2 separate regions of the Homo sapiens genome follow, and region 1 is linked to region 2. The links are contacts of gene promoters, found by promoter capture Hi-C in blood cells and fetal thymus (Javierre and others, 2016). All regions are on one chromosome and are shown on one strand. Each heading gives the region's core, a stretch centred on a gene start or on the middle of the fragment in contact. The rest is flanking DNA. Distances are from core to core; before and after follow the strand shown.

Region 1 (6,275 bases), core at 2,850-5,349, 9.2 Mb after region 2:
AGCCACAGGAGTCACAGGAGGAGAAAAACAATTATGGTTATTAAGAGAACTGGTACCAGAAAAGTCAACCCATCCGTCAGGCTGCTTTTCACTTAGTGAAAGGGTCACTTGATCACCTATGATACAGGAGGTGCTGGGCTGGACCTCCACCCGCTTCTGCCTAATTAAGCCCTGCTTCTTTGGGACCCACAGAAAGCAGAGGACTGAAGCAGTGAAAGCCCGTGCCCCAGACTCAAAGGCACGGGCATGCGGCCCCATGGCCTGAGGACGGCTCCCACAGGCCAAGGAACTTTCACAGGACACCCAGCCCTTTCGTCTGCTTCAGAGGACACTTTCCTATTCTGCGCACTGGTAACTCAGCAGCCCTTCTATCTGGGGAGCAGGAACACGGCGCACCAAGTGTGGGAGTCGAGAGGGTGGATTCAAGTTCCCTCTCGGCTGCCTACTGGCTTTGTGTCCTAGGGCAAAACACCCGGCCCCTCTGAGCCAGTTTCCCATGTTGTCAAACGGGGCCAGAGGCCCTGGCTCTCCCAGAGGACTGCAGTGAAGATGGGAACAGTCGCCAAGCACTGCCCCTCTGCCTAAGACACATGTGGCTGTTGAAATTTAAATTAATTAAAATTAGACATCTTAAAAAATTCAGTTCCTGGCCGGGCACAGTGGCTCACGCCTGTAATCCCAGCACTTTGGGAGGCCAGGGCGGGTGGATTCCTTGAGCCCACAAATTTTAAGACCAGCCTAGACAACATGGTGAAAACTCTGCCTCTACAAAAAATACAAAAATGAGCTGGGCGTGGTGGTACATGCCTGTGGTCCCAGCTACTCGGGAGGCTGGGGTGGGAGAATGGTTTGAGCCAGGGAGACGGAGGTTGCAGAGATCCGAGATCATACCACTGCACTCCAGCCTGGGTGACAGAGCCAGACCTGTCTCATAAAATAAATAAATAAATGAAACCTCAGTTCCTCAGAGCCACACGTGGCTAATGGCTGCCCTAATGGACTGCAGGGACACGCCAGGAGTCTGTCATGCCAGAAACTCCTACTGGACAGCCCTGCTCTGAAGAACTGTTATGACTACTACATGGCTGTCAGCTTTTCCTGAGAACTGTGCCCATAAAGTGGCTGCTGGCACCAGGGCGGAACACCGTGGCAGTCAGGAGGTTCCCGGGTGTGCTCGGTCATGGAGTGCTGCCCAACTCCACCCCCCGCACCTCGCTCATTGAAGAACAGGTGCACACCGACAAGCCGGGGCAGAGGAGCCACCTCCCCACCTCCGTGGACCCAGGCGCAGCCCTCCCCTCTTCAGAAAGGGGAGCCTTCCCTGGAACATGACCTAAAGGACTGAACCACTGAGACACAAATTAATGCACTTGGAATCCAGGCTGCTTGAGTGAACCAAGGAAAACAGAAATTCTTGAAAACTTGAAGGCACATCAATACTGAAGAGGATGAACCCCATCCTTACCTACGAATCCAACTTCTGCGGCCAGAACATGTGGCTTTGCCTTTGTTAAAGAGCTGAGCAGAATCCCACAACCAGTGGCTAAACCCCCACACACTTGGGTGCAGATCCCGTATCTGCTCATCTCATCCCAGCCAGAAGGAAACAAAAACTCCCGCCACACACAAAAGCAAGCATGGAGTCTTTCAAGAGAGATTAAATACTCCCAAAGCCTGAGAGTCTAAAAGGGAAGGATCAGATCAGAAAGGGAAGCTGTCACCCCGGGACCATGACCCAACCTGCCCCCGGGGCCTGTGCTCCATCTGCTCACTGGATGAACGTGTAAGGGCCACCTGGGACCAGGCACACCTGAGTTCACAAAGAAGAGGACAGGTCCTGGGGAATAAAGCATGGCAAGGAAAGCCATGAAAGTCAGCCCAGGGAACTGGCTGCCTATAAAACGCTGGAGCAGATGGCCGCGCAAGCCAGGGGAGGGGCAGGCCACAACAAATAACTTCGCGCTAAACCTGAACTTTTAGCCCCGTGCATCTGGCCCTCTGCACACCCCAGGTTGCCTCATATCATGCTCAGAAGCAGATCAAGTACATCTTCACGTGATTATAAAAACAGGAACTCAAGAGCACACAGCTATACTCACATTCCAACAATCACGGAGGGCTCTGGGAGGTTCAGGGGCCCTGAGACAGTGAAGCCGAGCAGCCCAAGTAAGACAGGCAGGGCTGTCTGTGAGCTGGTCCGGGCTGGCACACGGTGGCAGAACACAGATACCTGCACTGTGCTTTCCTAGATGGGCAAGTGTGTCTCAAAGACGCCGACAGGACAAGTGGCAATCTGTTTGATGTGCTCGTTGCCAGTGTGCTGAATTTTGGACAAGAATTCAGGTTACAGCTCAGAGTCTGATGTTCTTCATTACAAACACTGTTGGTTCCCTAGATTTAATGGAGTGGAGAGAAAAATCAACATGCAAGCACTACCATTTTGCTATTTCCACCCCTCCTATCTTAGTCGAAACCAGCACTGTCCATATCATAACTTTCTGCAGTGATGGAAATGTCCTCCACCTATGCTGTCCAATATGGTAGCCACAGGCCGGAAGTGGCTATTGAGCACTTGAAATGTGGCTAGTGAGACTGAGGAGCTGAATTCTTCATTTTACTTAATTTTAATGAATTTAAATGTAATTGCCACATGTAGCTGGTGACTACTGAACTGCTGTGTTAATTCAGCACTAATTCTAGAGCTGTGGTTCTAGACTCAACAAGGTAAAGCAAGAACCCACACGCTACACGTGCTAAACTGGACCATCCAACACACAGCGCCGGCAGTAATACTGCAGGCAGTCTGGCACTGGGTGGGACCTTTAAGTACAATGCATGCTTCAGAGTTGGTAGCCGCTGGCAAATCTGGCAAGTGTGCCCAAAGTGTCACTCTGTTCTAGCCCCTTCCCCAAACCAGATAATGTTTCCCTCAGCTTCAGCAAAAGCAGATGCTAACCAGGTGTGAGCAGCAACGGGAGAGAGCACTCGTATAACATGGAGCTGAGATTTGAGTCAGCACGAATGTGACATGGAACAAAGTCATTTTAGAGAGCCATAAACAGCCTACTTCAGTCATAAGAGCCAATAATACACTCAGATCTCATAATCTAGAGTGCTGGGCCATCAGCTAATCCGCCCTGCCCCACCTGAACAGTCATCACCAACTGAGCAGGAATGGAGGGATGCCCAGAAGTCAGCTCGCTAGCCCCACAGCGGGTTATGTTTCCATCCCCTGCTCAGCATGGGAAGAGCTTAGGGAAGCTGGGCTCGGGGAAATGACTCTTCCAACAGAACCTGGCTAGGGGTTTACAGCAAGAGCAAACAGACAGGTAGTCTCCACCCATACCACGTTATCTAGGAGAGTAGATGGTGACATCCAAACTACAAAACCAAATGCCACATTCCTGCTGACACACAACATCTGCGTGTGTGAGTAGAGCCTTCAGTTCCAGGCCAAAGGTGCAACCTGAACACCTACAGAGACCAAGCAGGCAAATGCATTGAGTCAAGCTGACAGGTGATTTGAGTCAAGCTGTCAGGTGATTTGAGTCAAGCTGTCAGGTGAGGAACCAAGAACTGGAACCAAGCACTTGTCCCGACCAAAAAGAGTCAGCCACTACCCAGCTTTTCAGGGAGCGTTTTATATGAAATCTGCTGGCAACTAATTTAAATTCTCTTAAAAACTGTTGAGGTTCAACAGTCAAGGACTGGATCCAGCCTATGCACTGCTAATTTGCAGATCCATTTTGAATAAACAGTTGTCTCAAGCCAAAACAAAAACAATTCTCAGCATCTATTTTCTTAGATCAATAAAAGCTTAACCTGTGCTGGCAAGGCTCCTGTTCCCTGCCTGAGGCATCCCTATTCGGCTCTTTTCAGATGCTTTTAGTCCAACAAGAGGGCGTATGTTTCTAATACTTTGTTTTCTAAACAGGTTATTTCGTATTACTGTTTGCATTGAATATCTTGAAAATGTTTGCTAGTTTTTAAGAGCATCTGAAAACCATTGAGGTAACTTATTTAAATGGTCCAATCTAATACCAGGCGGGAGTTAGAAAAACAAAAGTGTGTTTACCACTGCTTTTCCAAGGAAGAGGAAATGCAGAATGGGCAACGCTGGATAACTGGGCTAAAGAATAAAGTGCAAGCAAGCTAAAGGATTCTATCACAACTGCCAAACAGGAAGAATCTTCCCAGCTGGGAAAGCCATCTGCAAGCAATAGCAATGAACACGGGATGGAATCAGTCACAGAAAAGGAATAATGCAGAGTAGTTGAGAGGAAGATAACTTTTCTGTTAGACAATCCTCACCAAAAAGACGGGGAGGGGGAGAACCAGCAAAACAAAAACTTTTCCTTTTTTGCTGACCGCTGCTATAACAATCAAGCTTTAGCGGACAGTTAATCCAGGTGGCTCCACCAATACATCTTCTCCCAAATTTCTAGTGGCTGAACAGCTTCTAGTGGTTTCCACTAGCTGAAACTGCTTCCCAGATGCAAAAACTGCAACTTGAACATGAAACACGGAAACTACTCCAATCTCATCTTCTAGAAATCAGTTATTCAAATGGAGGTCCCTGTTGGAAGAAACACGCTCCTAGCTCCCTGCCCACACACCATTCATTAGGAAAGGTCACTTTAAAGGACTTCTACGGCAGGAGCGCTTGCACAGAACCATCCAAAAGTCTTCAGAATCTTCCCTCGAGGAAGTGGCCGGCTCTGGGCTCGGAAGAGACACATCTGGCGGGAGCTAAAGCTCCCTAGTAAACGTGCAGATCAAACTACCCCTGCCGCGGCCGGCCTGCTCTGTGAAGGCTTCCCCTTCTTTCTCTCTCCGGGGGCCCTGCCTTCCTCTACACGTCTGGGGCCGCGGCCGAGATGGCCACGCGCGTGCCCAGGCGGGAAGGGTGCTTCAGCAGCCGATCGGCCCGCGGGCAGCTAGGCGGGTCCCTGAGGCCTGCGCTGGGCGCCAGTTCCTTTCAGCACGGCCCGGCCTCGGGCCCCGCCCCGCATGGCCGCTGCCTACCTTACTCAGCCCGGCTAACGCCCCTTCCCCTAAGCTCTCCGCCGAGGCCTTCGACCTCGCTCCCACCCGGATCCCGGATCCTCCGGAACTGGAACCCAGTATGCCCGGCGAGGGTAGGGGGAGCGCGGGGAAACCAGGGAAGGAAGGCTGCTGCAGCCCTCGGAGGCCGCGCTGGGCTCTCCGGCCGCTGAGCCGCCTGCACTGGGGGCAACAAGCCCTTGGATCTCACCTCTCTCGGGCGCTGCCGCCACTGCTGCCCGGGCCAAGACGCCTCCTTCCCCAAGCGGCCATCTTGGAGACACTCTGCTTGCCAACGTCTCGCGCCAAGGCGGCATCGGGAGAGCAGGCGGGCCGACGGGAAGTGTAGTCCGGCCTGCGGTCCGGGGCCGCTCGGCAGGCGGAAGCCAGACCCGGCGGAACTACCGTGCCCACAAGGCAGCGCGCCGGAAGCCCCGCCCCCGGGGTCGCCGGGGCCCGTAGTCCTTCTGCGAGGGCGCGAGGACTCCAGGAGCCGTCCTGGTTCGAGCATTTCTGAAGAAACTGAGTTCCCGGCGTTCGCAGCCTGGGAGTCACAGGCGCCCACCCACCGGTAGGTCCTTGAGTTTCGAGAGCCAGTAGCTGAAGGAGAGAGGAGAGGCAAGTGCCTACAACTCCCAGAGCACTGCGCGGAGGCGCCCGGCCGCGCTGTCCTGGCCGCCAGGCTGCCTCTCCCGCTGGGGGCCGCCGCGCTGTCTGCGGGCTACTAGCGCCGGGCCCCTCCGCGTCGCCACGCCTGCCCTTCACAGCCTTGGCCCATAAGGTCACCGAGGGGCGGGAGGCGCCGCCCGGGCCCTCCTTGGAGGCGGGCGCTGCTCCCGCACCATCCTCCCCCAGTTCTCTTAGACTCCGGGGTACTTTGGAGGCCGAGACAGACACGCTGTCCCTGCTGCCACGGAGGTCCCTGCTTGCAGGTGCAGGCTGTTAGAGGAGAGGGTCTGAAAACAAGAAAGGGGAATAGCTGTATGATAACTGCTTGAAGGCGAGAGGGCCCAGCGACAGCTCTGTTTTAGACAGGGCCTCCAGGCCTCTTAGACTCAGTCCCTGCCACGCACCCACTCCTGCCCTGGCCGCTGCGACGGCATAATCTCGGGATCTTTGAAGGCAGATGCGGGGCTAAACCATCCCACCTGACGGGAACCCTGCCACAGGACCCGACATATCCCTGTCTGGACACTGCTGTAACGAGTCAAAGTCAGGAAGGACTAACTGGA
Region 2 (5,758 bases), core at 912-3,411:
ATCAAAGTGCTTTCTTGTTTTTGCCATATGCACATCTAATTATTGGCTCTTACTAGTTTACAATACCAACAGCAATGCAAGTATATGTCAGTTTTATCACAAACTCAGAATTAGGTATTCTTAAAAATAAGATTAGTTATATTTTTATTGTATTTCTCTTTTAATTCAGTTTCCCAATTTCCCTTAATGAATTTGCTAGGTTGAAGGTTTTCCTATATATATATAAATATAACTATATATATACATATTTTTTTTAATAGATGGAGTCTTGCTCTGTCACCCAGGCTGGAGTGCAGTGGCACAATCTCGGCTCACTGCAACCTCTGCCTCCCAGGTTCAAGCGATTCTCCTGCCTCAGCCTCCCTAGTAGCTGGGATTATAGGTACCTGCCACCACACCGGCTAATTTTTGTTTTTTTCTGTATTTTTAGTAGAGACAGGGTTTCACCACGTTGGCCAGGCTGGTCACTAACTCCTGACCTCACGTAATCCACCCGCCTTGGCCTCCCAAAGTGCTGGGATTACAGGTGTGAGCCAACATCCCCAGCCTTCTTTAATATATGTTATTTATAATATTGGATGTGTGTGTGTGTGTGTGTGTGTGTGTGTGTGTGTGTGTGTGTTTAAATTAATTTTCTAGTAGTTGCCTAATCTGTAGTGCTGCTTCTAGGATTTCTATTAAAAGAATATATATTAAATTCTTATTAAAGGCCAGTTATGATGGCTCATAATTAAGATGCCCTAGGAGCAACAAGAGCTGGGTGGGCTACTGATTTCCAGATGGGAATCTGGCCATGTTTATAAGACCTGGACTTGAAGATATTGGGCAGCCAACGAGGCCCATGGAGGAGAATTCTGGCGGGCTCTCCACTGAAGTACACCTACCTGCTCTCACCTTCAATTTGCCTTTAATGCCTCTCCACTTGATGTTTACGGCTAGCCACTTTTAGGATCTGAGCCATCAAGATGATGGATGAAATTGGGTTTGGAACAAGAAGGCAGGGCTATTTTGACCCAGGACACATTTCCAACATGCTGTGAAGAACTCTCAGCATCAAATAACATCTGGGTGGAAGAAGTTTTGGGAAAGAAGTCTAGCTGTAGATCACACAATGCTTCTAAATGGGAGAAAATGTCCAGCTCCATGGCTTAGATTCTTTGGGAAGTAGGATAACTGGCTATTCCATTTTAGGCAAGGCTGCCTGGCCAGAAACCCATGTCTTACCATTTCGAGTACATTATGGTTGGCTTACAAATCGTAGCCTCATAGAGAACTTTTTCTTCTTTTAGCTACTGTCTTCCTAAAATAAAAGTCTCTGTGCAAAGCAATGGAAGAAACCTCATATTGTTTTTTGGGGTTGTCATTTTATGTAACTTACAATAATGACTACGGCTCGTCTTATACAAGATGTAAAGGATTTGGGAGAGGGAATCCAGTGTGCATTTAGGGGAAGATGGTGATGTAGATAGCATATTTCAGGAGGCTGGGAAGTGTCGAGTGCTTAAATATATGCTTCTCAAATTTAATGGGCATACAAATTACCTGGTGGTATTATTAAAATGTAACCTCTAATTCAGTAGTTTTGGGATGGGTCCATGGACAGCACTTTGGTTAGTTCCCCTTGGGACTCCCCTTTCCCCTCAGAGAAGTGTAGAGGGTTGGGGTATTGGGCTTAAGAGGAGTTCCAGACTGTAACCATAGCTCTAGGTAACTCCCTTCTGGAAGTGATGTGTTAGCGACTGGAGGAGAAAGGGATCCCTGGGATCCTTTTCAGCTTTACTATTCTGATTTGGGGTTCTGAGATTCCAACAAAGTGGACTTTTGGGAGTCACAGACCTCCATGGGAATGATGAAAGCTGCGTACCTTCTTTCCGCACAAATGCAGGCCCACCTTTAATTCTGCAAACCACTTTAGGCCCCGCGGGCCCGCAGCCCTGGTCCAAGACAGCTGTCTGCTTCACAGGTCGCGCACCCAGAGCCGGGCGGTTCTGCAGCTCAGCATCTGGCCCGGGCTGCGCGTCGGGCTCTGGCGGGGGCGTGTCAGGAGGCGTGTCCGGGGCGTGTCGGAGGCGGGGCCAAGGCGGGGGTAAGCCTCGCCCCTCGGCCGTGCGAGAGGCCGAGCTTGCTGCATTGCAGCCGCCGCGGCGCCGCTCGGCTCTTCACTCCCAACAATGGCGGCTCCGAGCCCGAGCGGCGGCGGCGGCTCCGGGGGCGGCAGCGGCAGCGGCACCCCCGGCCCCGTAGGGTCCCCGGCGCCAGGCCACCCGGCCGTCAGCAGCATGCAGGGTAAGGAACGCGGCCGCGCCGAGATCCCAGCCCCCTAGCGCGGCAACCCGCGTCGTCGCGGCCTGCCCCAGCGGACGCCCCCGGACCCGGCTGAGGAAGCCACGGCAGCCGCCGGCTTCTCCCTCTCTCCCTCCCCGGCTTCCCGCCCCGCTCCCGGCCGCCTCCGGCCCGGCTTGGATCCGGGCTCCGGCCCGCATAGGCCCCGGCCGCGGCCTCTGCCTGCGCTTGGCCCCTGGGCCCTACCGGGCTCTCAGCAGGCCCGCAGGGCCCACCTGGTCCGGGACCGCCCCCGCGGCCGTCCCCATCGCCCCCGCCGCTTACCTGGCGCCCGCCCGGCCCCCGTTTCCGGGAACGCGCCGGCTCGGGGCTGCGGCGGAGCGGGAGGGGCGTCGGGCCTGCCCCCTGGTCCCTGACGCCGCTCAGGTAGGCGGCGAAGACAGCGGCCCCGGCCGGCGCCCCTCGGCCCCGCCGCCGCAGTGGGCCCCGCTCAGGGCCATCTTGGCTGTCGCCGGGCACAGCTGGAGCCGGACCACCGAGCTGACCTCGGGCTACGGGGGCCTCTTGGAACCTGCGTTTTCAAACTTTTGCAGGGTTTCTGTGCGCTGGAAGGGATGGGGGTGGGGGGCGGGTTGCCCAGGCCTGTGCCACCTGTAAGGTAGGTAGGCTGCATTGGCCTGGGAGAGGCATTTTGTTCCAGGCCAGGGATTTCTGTGTTAGCATTGCGTGCAGGAAGAAAAAAAAAAAAAAAAAAAAAGAAGACTTAATTTGGTTTAAATGGAGAGATACAGGAAATAGACAGGGGTCAAAGTGATACTGTAGTGTCTGGACATTTGAGGCAGCTCTGCTAATTAATGACTTTCCCCACTGGGAATGCTTATTAGCTGTGTATGGCTTTTGACAGGGGGTGTTGTGAAAATACCAGGCCAGGCCCGAGCCTGTTAGGGACCATTTCCTTAAATTTACTGGGGAATTTTGAGTAGTAATGCTATTTTTAAAACAGGGAATCTCAGAACTCTCTTGACAACTTTAGCAAACTGCTTGTGTTGAATTATTAACAGAATAAGGGTTGGGGTACCCTTGGTAGTCAGTGTGACCATGGTTACTTTTTGATTCCATTCCTCTTAAAGGGCTTCTAGCATTTAGTTAGGTTCAACAGACATTTATTGAATAGTTCATGTTTATAGAGCATGCCATAATTCAGAAAGAAGAGACAGGATTTTATTTATCTTTACATCCCTGTCACCCTCCCCATGAAATAATTTTAATATACATAAAAACCAGTGATAGATATATAGACAGGATGATGTCAGAGCTTAGAGGACACTTTCTGTGCAGGCCCTCAGATAATTCATTCAAATTGAATTAGTTATTGGATGCCCACTGTGTTGCACAGCACATTATACTGATGAAGTATAAGATTGACTTCCTGACTGTACAGCTTTACAATTTAGGTGGTGGTGGTTGGGGCGAAATGAAATGGCAAAATGACAATTTAGGATTGTATTTCTTGTTCCAGATGGGTGACTTACAAAGCTTATAAAAACAAGGTGATTTGTTTGTTTGTTTTATTGGTGGGGAGGCTGACAGTTTGAAATAGCTGGATACAGTGTGTTTTTTTGGTTCAAAAAATATTTATTGAGCATCTGCATAAAACGCTCATGCTGAGTTTATAGAGAATTGAACATCTCTAACTGTCCTCATGGAGGTTATCCCCCTGTGAAGATGGGGGAGGGAAGGCTATTTAGCTAAACATGAAAAATTACTAGTTGGAAAAGTAATAAAGGTAACAAGCTGGGTTTTGTGATAGAAGATAATAGAGGGCAGTCCGCTTGATAAGATGGTCAGAGAAGGCTTGTCTGGAAAGCTAACCCTCTTTTACCTGAAGACGGTTCTAGGCAGAGGAACTGTGTGTATGAAGGTTCCAAAGCAGGGAAGAGCTTGGAGTGTTCTAGGAACTCCTAAGGCAGTGGTTAGGACTTTTTCTGATGCTGTCCGTTCTCCTCAGCCCTTGTATGTTGATACCCAGTTAACTAAACTTTCTAATAAGCAGAACCCATTTTAGAAGGAAAAAGGACCTAAGACCTCTCTATGAATTATTGCCGAATTTTCTTTTTTATCAATATTGTGTCTAGTCTTGATTGATTCAGGAATGTGTTATATCTTGTTCTTGAAACTTTTTTCATTAGTCAGAATGAAGTGCTTGATATTCTCAGGATGTTGTCTAGAACAGTCTGTTATAAAGCTTGAACTTAAGCAGCAATTTAGGATCCTTCTTTTTGGTTTGTTTTGTTCTGTATCTTAATTGTGAGGCCCTTGAAGAGGAAATCTTATAAGAACCCAAAAAGAAAGATTCCCATCCAATTGTATGGGAGTCACACCTCCCATACTGTACTTCATCTGCCAAGGGTCTTCTTTTGCTTTAGATCAGACTTCACAGAGTGGGCCTTAGAAGATGTTTGATGTACTTCCATTCCTTCTCCCCCAATCTAATTATACTTGCCACTCAAAAAACTTCCTTTCTGGGAGTTGTTAATGACCATGCTCTCTGAAACAGCAGGATTCAGTTGTGGAACATAAGGAATGTTTCATGCAGTAGACATTGGACATCCTCTTATGTGGTAAGCACTGTGGTGGGCACTGGATAACCTTGAATACTTTTTCATGGCTTCATGTTTATGGCCCAAGAGTGGTCCAGGCTGGCCAATATTGCTTTCTTAATATACTGCTTAAGAACCAGAGCTCTGGAGTTCTGGGTTTGAATCTCTTGGCCAGGATTCAGATATGCGTTTTGTGACCAGGGGCAATGAACTTGGCCTTTCGAAGCCTCAGTTTCTCACTTGGAAAGTGGGAATAACGCTTACCTCCCCGGTGGCTTTGAGAATGCATGTAAGCCTGGGACCTGACATGTAGTAAGGATGCAATACACATTAGCCATCATTGTTAGTAGCGACAATATTGTTATGGTCTCATTAATGGTCCCTTTTACTATTGGTAAATGAGTCCCTAACCTCTCATTATTTACCACACAATTTCTTTAGTTCATATTACTAGGTCCCACTGTTCTCTCTAACCTGTTGATTTCCCCACTTTTCATTATTGAGCAGTCCTTTCAGAGTATCCTAGATGAGATTTTATTCTACTTCAAACTCCGGATCTGTTTTTTTCTGGATCTGAGGACTCTCAAATGAATTACAATGTGAACGATATGAAACAGAAGTCTAGCTATCAATTTGCTCTACTCATTTTTTTCATAGGGGATGGGTAGATGGTTGGAATGGGATTTATAGTGAATTTGATTATAAGAGTAATCAACAGACGTAGCTTTGGTTGCATGTTTATGCTAACAGTTATGGCTTCTAATCTGGCCATTTTTGCCACTGTCCCTCAGATAATAGGGAATAGCTGCTAATTTTGTTATTACTCAAAAGATTTGAGTGTCTTCACTCATTCTGACTCATTTTTTTTTCATGTT

The links. The method cuts DNA at HindIII sites, captures the fragments that hold promoters and counts their contacts. A CHiCAGO score of 5 or more calls a contact.
Region 1: a fragment that was not itself captured here is called in contact with the fragment with the promoter of MAP2K4 in region 2 in 1 of 17 cell types (fetal thymus); the score reaches 5.8 in fetal thymus.

The regions. Positions count from the first base shown.
Region 1 is chr17:21,208,837-21,215,111 of GRCh38, forward strand. TMEM11 (transmembrane protein 11) reads right to left here and starts at 5,325. Exons shown (of 2, transcript NM_003876.3): 1 at 5,255-5,325. The coding sequence starts at 5,316. It overlaps TMEM11-DT (TMEM11 divergent transcript), which reads left to right and starts at 5,489. Exons shown (of 2, transcript NR_184102.1): 1 at 5,489-5,614. RefSeq lists enhancers at 5,227-5,326, 6,097-6,275 and silencers at 5,407-5,546, 5,667-5,936. The HindIII fragment of the contact is 571 bases long and covers 3,815-4,385 here.
Region 2 is chr17:12,018,716-12,024,473 of GRCh38, forward strand. It overlaps MAP2K4 (mitogen-activated protein kinase kinase 4), which reads left to right and starts at 2,162. Exons shown (of 11, transcript NM_003010.4): 1 at 2,162-2,286. The coding sequence starts at 2,172. It also overlaps a transcript of ZNF18 not described here. RefSeq lists an enhancer at 1,962-2,462 and a silencer at 1,999-2,878. The HindIII fragment of the contact is 6,257 bases long and covers 1-3,817 here.